Regions from separate parts of the Homo sapiens genome. Here region 2 is linked to region 1. Evidence: promoter capture Hi-C in 16 types of primary human blood cells and fetal thymus (Javierre and others, 2016). All regions are on one chromosome and are shown on one strand. The core of a region is centred on a gene start or on the middle of the fragment in contact, and the rest is flanking DNA. Distances in the headings are between cores, read along the strand shown.

Region 1 (4,566 bases), core at 894-3,393:
CAACAAAACACACAGACGCACACACCAAGTGTCTGACTCGGGAGGACGCACAAAAGAGGTGGAAAATCCGGTATTTTTTTTACCAGAGGGGGAAAGCAGTCTGCCAGGCAAAAAGCTCAAACCCAGTGGGGTGGGAGCGCCCCCACTCCTTTGCTGCCGCCCGCCGTAAGCCGGCCTGCCCCCCACCCATAACTACCGTACCAGGAGGGAGCCAAGCAGCGTTCGGGGGCCGAGGGAGGAAGCAGCCCTTCAGCCCTGCTACCCCGGCTGCGCTGAAACCCGATCCTAAGGAGTTCAGAATCAGGTTTCAAAACATGACAGAGCCGAGCTGCACCAGCACCCCACGTTGCCGCGGCCGCTAAGGGAACCATAGGGGCAGGGTGAATGATTAACTCTGTCATATGAAACCTCGACGTTCCGAGACCCCTTCTGCGCCGCCAGTCCCACAACACTCTCTTCCCTTCACCAGAGCAGCCACCGCGACCTCCAGCGCAGGCCCGGGGGGCGGCTGAACCCTGGGGATCCGGGAGCGTGCGCGCGCGCCAGGCCCGGTGTGACCTCGCGGAGGTGCAGACCCCGGCCGGCGCCGGCAGTCTCTGCGGGCCTCGGGCGGCAGGGAGAGCTACGGTGCCGGTGTCCACATTTGCTTCGTTAGCCCCTCCAGAAACGGGGAGAGGGTGGCAACTTCAAAGCCAGCGGGATGGGGGTGGGAAGCTGGGCAGCAGTGACCAGCCGAGGTGGGGGCGGGGACTGAGACCTAGGCGGGCGACCAGAAACTTCTGGGGGGAGAGGGGGAGGGTAAGGAGGGAGGTTCCCCCGCCCCCCGCCTCCGCCGCCCCCTACCTCTGCCGGCCGGGGAGCGAGGTAGGGGGCGGGGAGAGGTGGGCAGCCGGACCAGGCTGGTGGGGAAGGTAAGCGCCATGTTTGCGAGCACTTGGAGGAAAAGAAAGCCGGGAAGGGGGTGGGGGAGAGGAAGGGGGAGGAGGAGGAAAGTTGGCGCTCACCTTTTGGACTGGGTCTCGGAGGGGTTCCTGTCGCGCTGCCGGCGGTTCTTGAACCAGTTGCTGACCTGGGTGAGGGAGAGGCCGGTGATCTTGGCCAGGTGCCGCTTCTCGGCGGGCGAAGGGTAGCGATTCTGCTTGTAGAGCTCCTTGAGCGCGTTGCGCGACTTCTCCTTGAAACAATACACCGTCTCCTCGCCGTCCCAGATGGTGCGGGGCAGGGGGAATTTCCTGCGCAGCCGGTACTTGTCTACGGCTCCCAGCGGCCGGCCGCGGGCTCGCTCGGCCTCGGTGTAGCGCGCCTTGTACCAGAGCTGCTGCAGCAGCGGGTGGTTGGCCGACTCGAAGCTGTGGCTCTCGAGGATGCTGTAGAGCTCGGGGTAGATGCCCTGGTGGAAGGCCACGAGCGCCCGCGCCTTCAGCAGGCTCTCGTTGCCACGTAGCAGGTCGCTCTGGGGCAGGGACCACAGGAACCGGGCCAGGCGGTCCAGGTTGCCCCCCTGCTGCAGTGCCTCGCACACGCAGGCGACGTGGTCGGGCGAGAAGGCCAGCGGGGTCTGCGCGGCGGCGGCGGCGGCGTGGTGGTGCCTGCCCAGAAGTTCCGAGTGGAGTTGTACCTGATCCGCCGCCGCTCCGGCCGCCGCCGCCGCCACTGCCCCTTCCTCTCCGCTCACCCTGGCGGCAGCGGTCGCGGCGTCCCCCGGCTCCAGGGGAAAAGGGGCTGGAGCCGGGGGGCTCAGCCCTACCGCCGCGCCCCCCGCCACTTCTCGGTGCGCCTCCTGCCCTTCCGAGGCGCTTTCCATCCCATTCTCTTGCTTGATGTCCGCCGCACTTGCGATCTGCCCGGTGGGGGAGGAAGAGGACATTTTTTGTTGTTTATTTTCCTCCCTCCCTCACTCCCTCGCACTCTTTTCCTCTTTCTTTCCTCCTCTCTTACTCCTCCTCCTTCGTCTCCCTCCCTCCTCTCCCCCTCCGGAAAGCCCACTCCCTCCCTCCTGGTTTCGGCTGTATCTGGCCGATCAGGTTTCCCCCCGGCCACGCAGTCACCATTAAGATAGCTGTTAGAGCAAAGTAGTGTAAACGGATAGCTGCTTTCTGCCGTTCCCCCAACGTGACTCCTCCGGTTGCTGCATACTATATGGCAGTGGCGGCCGGGCCGGCCCGGCCTAGCCACCTCATTGGCTATTTCGCATTCAGAGGGAGGAGGAGACACAGTTTCTATCCCTGTCGATCACCCGCCTCCCACTCCACCCCTCGCCTTTCCCTCCCCTCCTGACCCCCAGGCACCTATACCTGAAGGAAAACACCGACATTCTTTCCAAGCCACGCTCCTGGGCGGGAAATTACCTAATGTGGCCTGAAAACTGGACAACTCTTTCAAACAGAGGCCCTACAATTCCAGAGGGAATATTAATTGTGTGGCCTTAAGGTCTGGATGGTTAAATTTTTAACAAAGAGACCACCCTCAGCATCTAGATGACAAAACTTCAGAGGACAATTCAGAAGCCCCCCAGTATGTCCCTGTTCCCCATTCTCCCTCTTTTTGGATGTCTTTATCAAGGATTTTGTATTCAAAACGGTCAAAAATAAAATGACACTAGGAAATGTTCTAAGGGGCAAGCATTTACAGTAAATTAAAATTCCAAAGAGGGAAAAATGCTTGAAAACCTTATAATTAGCAGCATAAATAGCACACTGAGAAGACAAAAACAAGAAGCCTTCAAAAAATGTACTTAACCTTAAGCCACGTGGAGGGCTGGCAACCCAACTGAGTTGAACATGGTATAATTAAACATGTAGAATATTAAACCATAAGTTTATCCTGGATGAGTCGTGTGGAAGAGATCTAAGCTTTAAATATGGAAATTTAAGTTTTCTACATGAACTTTTTAATGTAAGTATATGAGTATTTCTTTTTTAACGATGATAGGCTAGAAACACTGAATGTGCGGGTGTCATCCAGATCAGTGCAGGATCAGAAGCCCTTTTCCACAGCATAGACAGATTGCCCTCTGGTTTGATGCTGAAGTGGGGGTAGAGTCTTTTGTTGTTTGCAGTTGTGTCTCTTTCCTTTGTAATTTGCACAAGATCTTAATTCCAAAAGGGATGATCCATTTCTGCTTCTTTGATTACTGTAGGTCAGTTGGGTTTGCCTGCTGCTGCTCTTTCTCAAAATTCAACTTTTTTTCCCCCCGAGATGGAGTCTCGCTCTGTCGCCCAGGCTGGAGTGCAGTGGTGTGATCTCGGCTCACTGCAAGCTCCGCCTCCTGGGTTCACGCCATTCTCCTGCCTCAGCCTCCCGAGTAGCTGGGACTACAGGCGCCCGCCACCACGCCCAGCTAATTTTTTTTTTTTTTTTTTTTTTGTATTTTTTAGTAGAGACGGGGTTTCACCACGTTAGCCAGGATGGTCTCGATCTCCTGACCTCGTGATCCGTCCGCCTCGGCCTCTCAAAATTCAACATTTTAATGACATCATCCTAACCTTTGCTTCAGGGTGGCCTTGTATTGTGTATGCTTCCCAGCTACTCATAGCTGCCTACTTCAGCATATTACAAAGCAGCTGTCTAGGTCACCTGCCGTCATGATAAACTTGGTGAGATTTTCTTTTTTTTTGTAGACAGGCTTTATTTTATTGCTGGTCAATCAAGATGTCATTTGATGTAGGATTTAACTTGTTTTTGCATTACCCTAATGTGTTGACATCGCTGGTAGATTTAAAATTTATAACAACAGAAAAGGCCATATTATTTATTTGCTTATTTATTTATTTATTTATTTATTTATTTTTTGAGATGGAGTCTCACTCTGTTGCCCGGGCTGGAGTGCAGTGGCGTGATCTTGGCTCACTGCAACCTCTGCCTCCCGGGTTCAAGCGATTCTCCTGCCTCAGTCTCCTGAGTAGCTGGCACTACAGGCGCGTGCCACCATGCCCGACTAATTTTTTATATTTTTAGTAGAGATGGGGTTTCATCGTGTTAGCCAGGATGGTCTCGATCTCCTGACCTCGTGATCCGCCCGCCTCGATCTCCCAAAGTGCTGGGATTACAGGCGTGAGCCACCGCGCCCGGCCAAGACCATGTGTTTCTACTCCACTGGAAACATCCAGTTAGGTACCAAGCTTCAGGACAATAACTGAGATTCAGAACTTCCTTGAATTTTTGTTTGCTTGTTTGTTTTTGTTTGAGACAGGGTCTCTCTCTGATGCCCAGGCTGAAGTGCAGTGGCATGATCTCAGCTCACTGCAACCTGCCCCTCCTGGTTTCAAGTGATTCTCCTGCATCAGCCTCCCGAGTAGCTGGGATTACAGGCACCTGCCAACCACACCCAGCTAATTTTTGTATTTTTAGTAGAGATGGGGTTTCACCATGTTGGCCAGGCTGGTCTTAAATTCCTGACCTCAAGTGATCCGCCCACCTCAGTCTCCCAGAGTGCTGGGATTAGAGGCATGAGCCACCACACCTGGCCAAATTTTTTTAAAAATATATTTTTTATTTGGAATGCTTTTCATTTACAGAAAAGTTACCAAAATAGTAGAGTTTCCACTTACCTTTCACCTAGTTCCC
Region 2 (4,566 bases), core at 1,042-3,541, 510 kb after region 1:
GCAACTCTTGGGGCTGCTCTATGGAGCAGACATTCATTTATTCCTTTACTTTCTTAATAAACTTGCTTCCACTTTACCCTATGGACTCGCCCTGAATTCTTTCTTGTGTGAAATCCAAGAACCCTTTTTTGGGGTCTGGATACAGACCCCCTTCCTGTAACAGTGGCAAGCGCCTGTGGTCCCAGCTACAAGGGAGGCTGAGGCAGAAGAATCGCTTGAACCCAGGAGGTGGAAGTTGCAGTAAGCTGAGATCATGCCACTGTACTCCACCCTGGGTGACAGAGCAAGACTCTGTTTCAAAAAAAAAAAAAAAAAGATACCAAATTCCAGCCTAACTCTAGTATAGCATCACATGACAGATAGCAGGCCCTAAAAGAAATTGAAGTATTTTACCCTAAAATATATTTCTTTGACATATTTTGAAATGACCTTACAAAGCTGTCTCTTGTGAAAAAAATCTACATTCTGTAGAGAACTCCTTTCCCTTTCCAGGTCTTCATCCTGATCGAGGAGAGAATTAACTAAGAGTCTGACAGCTTTTTAAGTCTGACAAGAAACATTTACAATCTATTCTCTCTGAATCCTGTTACCTGGAGGCTTCATCTGCATAATAAGAACTTTGGTCTCCACAACCCCTTATCTTAACCCAGACGCTCCTTTCTATGGATTCAGGGCTTTAGATAAACTCTTTCAATCAATCGTCAATCGGAAAATCTTTGAATCCACCTATGACCCAGAAACCTGGAACTTTCTCCCCCAACCCTTACCTCCAGTTGTCCCCCTTTTCCTGACCAAACCAATGTACACCTTACATGTATTGATTGATGTCTTAGTGTCCTGTGTCTCCCTAAAATGTATAAAACCAAACTGTAACCCAACCATCTTGGGCACTTGCGGTCAGGCCTTCCTGAAGCATGTCCTTAACCTTGGCAAAATAAACTCCTAAACTGATTGAGACTTGTCTTAGATACTTTTTGGTTTACAGAGGTATAGAAACAACTGTATTGGTTACAGCTTGGCACTTGCCTTGTTTAAACAAGGCTTGAAGAGTTGGCTGCCTGTGATTGGCTGAGATACAGCAACTTGTTGCAAAGTAGTAACAGTCTGTTTATACATCCAGTTAGGTTAGGGTTCACTATGTATGGAGAAACCTTTAGGCCAAACTTAAACTATGTAAGTAGGCAGCTTTAGACTAAATTAATTTAACATCTTAATTCTGTCAACTCTTACTTTCCTAACTATAGCCTCCATTAGGACTTTACAGACAGGTTTTGAAATCACAGTACATTGGGTTCCTGTGTCAAGGAGCCCTGGAAATTCTCCACCCCTGACCATTTTACCCACTCTTGTGCAAAAGGCCTTTGGGTCCCTGACAGGAGATTGAGCCAAGGGACCCCAGCCCTTTTGTCAATCTTTTTCTTGATTAATCTGCCTGAGTGTTGCTTGAGGCAATTTTAGATCATTTTTCTCATTATAATCTTTGCCTCCTAACTTTTCATATTTCTCCAAACTAGGGTAAATTCAGCAAACTTGTTTGGAGCCCTTTAATGTTGCAGGACCAGCTGGGGCTCCTGTTGGTCCATCCAACCTTAAGAGCTTTGTTTTGACCCCACACATTTACATTTTATTCACCTCATTTCTTGGTAACCATATAAAGATTTCCACCTTGCTCAGACAAATCCCCTGACTCTCCTCTTTTTCCGTTTAGTTTCACCTTTATCAATGTTTTCTTTATTCACCTTATTTCTTAATAACCATTTAAAAATGTCCACCTTCCTGGAAAGTTCTTTTACTCTCTTCTCTGTCTTTTCCCCATTCTCTTGTTAATTAATCTAACGTTTTCATTAGCATCTGTAAGACCCGTGAAGGGAAGCTGTGACAACAAACTGGGTAAAGCTTCTCGAACTTTCTTTTGGGTTTGCAAAACAGTACGGTTATATGGGGATCTCCATTAAAGGAGCCCCCTGAATAACAGAATTTACCATAATTCATCAGGTGAATATCCCAGTCATTATAAAGCTGGTCCCACATGGCTTGCATATGAAGCATATTAGCTGCTGTAACTGGAGTGTTCCAATTAGCATTTCTAGGTGGAGTCAGGCAATCTCCCTCCTCAGAGTAAACAGACCTTAAAATGGCTTTTATCAAGTTCACCAGGCTCGCTGTTCCCTCAGGAATCACCTCCTGTTCATGACTGTTCCATAGCGAGCTGTGGATATTGCATCAACCCAAACATACTCTTCCACCCTGCAGCATTTAAAACCAAAGATACTGCCCCTAAATTAGTTAACTGTCACAATCCATTTTACTAAGGGTTCTTCAGGAAGCTGATGATACTGCAAGGCTCTTGTATTGGTTCAAACCCCGAGAGCGGGCCAACAAACAAGACAAGGTGGTGTGGAGCAACACGCTGATTTAATGAGCGCCTGGGTGCAGGTGGGCTGAGGCCTAAAATGGCGTCAGCACCAAATGAGGACAGGGCAGGGGTTTTATAGTCTCCTGTAAACAGGAAGTGTCTCAATCTGATGTAACTGCTTCGAGGTACCCGGATGGCCTCTCTCTCCCTCTTCAGGGGGTACGTGTCTTCCGGCCAGCTCTCTTCCTGCTTCTGCTATCTTGCTAAAGCAGGCTAATGTGCTCTTGCGCCTTGGGACTGGGCCTGAGAAGGGAGGAGTTATTCATTCCCTTAAGCTTTCAGGCTCTGGGGAGAATCTTTCAGATACCAGTCTACAAAATGAAACAATTCCTTCACACTAAACCCTCTGGTTTCAATAGCTTCTTTGTTTTGCCCTTACCACACACTGACTACCTTCTTGGTAAACACAGGTCTTAGAGGTGCTTTCTGTAGTCCTGGCATAATTTTTTCTGGGAGATGGCTCTGAGGCTAATGACTGAAGTTCTAACTCACTGAAGTCTGCACTGGGGGTAGCATCAAGATCTGACCCAGCACTGTCTTTTGATTTCATTTTAGCTATTACAGATAGCAATAACCACACAATTGTATATTTTACTTTTTTGTTGTTTATTATAAGTTTGCATTTCTTTATGCATCCAGCAAACCAACTGTCCAGGAGTTGAATGCATCTCTAAATTTCACTGGAGGTTTTGCCATTAGTAACTGAGTGCAACACAGCTACTGCCTCATATCATGGTGATACGGCTCCAGTGACTGTAGAAACACCGTGGGTCCTTTGTCTCACACTGATAAGATTGACACGGACACACGTGGAGTGATTTTAAGGAGTAAAAAGTTTAATAGGCAAGAAAGAAGAAAGAAGAAAACAGCTCCCCTGTACAGAGGGAGGGAGGGAGCCTCCAAACAGAGAAACCCCACATGCCGCAGAAAGCAGTTGGTTATATTGGGAGGTTGGAGGAAGCGGTGTCTGATTTGCACAGGGCTCAGGGGATTCGTTTAACCAGCTGTGTCATTCATGTAGCCCTCGAAAAAACCCTCCCACCCTAGCTTTTAATACGCAAATGCGAGTTGCCATGAAGTCCTGCACATGTGGTGTTACCTGGAGGTGGCCATGGCACCTGCCACACGTGGTGACAAGGATAAGAGGGCAGGACTGCCAGTTGGGTGGACCTGGTTTCTAGCCATCTGCATTTGCATATCAATGATTGCCAGTCTGGTTTTTCAAGCCTCTTTCGGTTAGAAAGGAAATGGTTCGGGGGTTGCTCTTTATTAAAGGAAAGTTCCACCGAGAACCTTCACCCTTTCCAGCTGCCTAAAAATTATTTCTTAACAGCTCCTGTATTAATAGGTGGCCATATGGTCACCTGAGAATCATATTTATCACCCTCCACCCATTTGTCCTTTTTACCCAAAATCACATGTTCCTGTGAGTCAGAGGCCAGGCTAGTAAATCCCACTTCTGACACCAAATCTGAGGCTATTGAGGAAAAACAAACTCAGTTTCTCCTACTATACTCTCACAACACAGAACACTTCAGTAACTAAATGTGTGAGGTTTTTTCCCCACACACCAAGCAAGCGTCAATTCTACAGCTCTAATTCAATTCTGACACTATGTACCTGGAGGTACCATCAGATCCCACAGGTTGAGAACTCAGTTCTAGAAGACTGGCCTTCACTTCAGATGCCAGTTGCAAGTCTGGGTCTCTGGGATAAGTCAGGATTCCCACAACGCCCTCCTTGAATTCAATTAATTTGCCAAAGTGGCTCACAGAACTCAGGAAATACTTACTTACATTTACTGGTTTATTATAAGGGTTACTACAAAGGACACAGATAAAGAAGTGTATAGGGTGAGGTTATGTGAGGAAGGGGCACAGAATTTCCATGTCCTCTCTGGGTGCACCACCTTCCAGGACCCTCCACATGTCCAGCTATCCAGAAGTCCCCTGAACCCAGTCTTTTGGCAGGGTTTTATGGAAGCCTCATTACATAGGCATGATTGATTAAATCATTGATCATTGGTAATCAACTTAACCTTCATCCCCTCTCCACTCTCCAGAGGTTGTGGGATGGGCTGAAAGTCCCAACTCTTTGCTCATGCCTTGGACTTTCCTGTGATCATCCCCCATCCTGAAGCTACCTGGAGA

Evidence for each region. The method cuts DNA at HindIII sites, captures the fragments that hold promoters and counts their contacts. A CHiCAGO score of 5 or more calls a contact.
Region 2: a contact is called between a fragment that was not itself captured here and the fragment with the promoter of SIX4 in region 1, in 3 of 17 cell types (endothelial precursors, M0 macrophages and M1 macrophages). The highest score is 10.4, in endothelial precursors.

The regions. Positions count from the first base shown.
Region 1 is chr14:60,722,208-60,726,773 of GRCh38, forward strand. SIX4 (SIX homeobox 4) reads right to left here and starts at 2,144. Exons shown (of 3, transcript NM_017420.5): 1 at 1,005-2,144. The coding sequence starts at 1,867. RefSeq lists silencers at 209-278, 1,557-1,626. The HindIII fragment of the contact is 4,809 bases long and covers 1-2,850 here.
Region 2 is chr14:61,236,945-61,241,510 of GRCh38, forward strand. It overlaps a transcript of PRKCH not described here. Among named protein-coding and RNA genes, the nearest start is that of TMEM30B, 42 kb to the right of the region's middle. The HindIII fragment of the contact is 795 bases long and covers 1,895-2,689 here.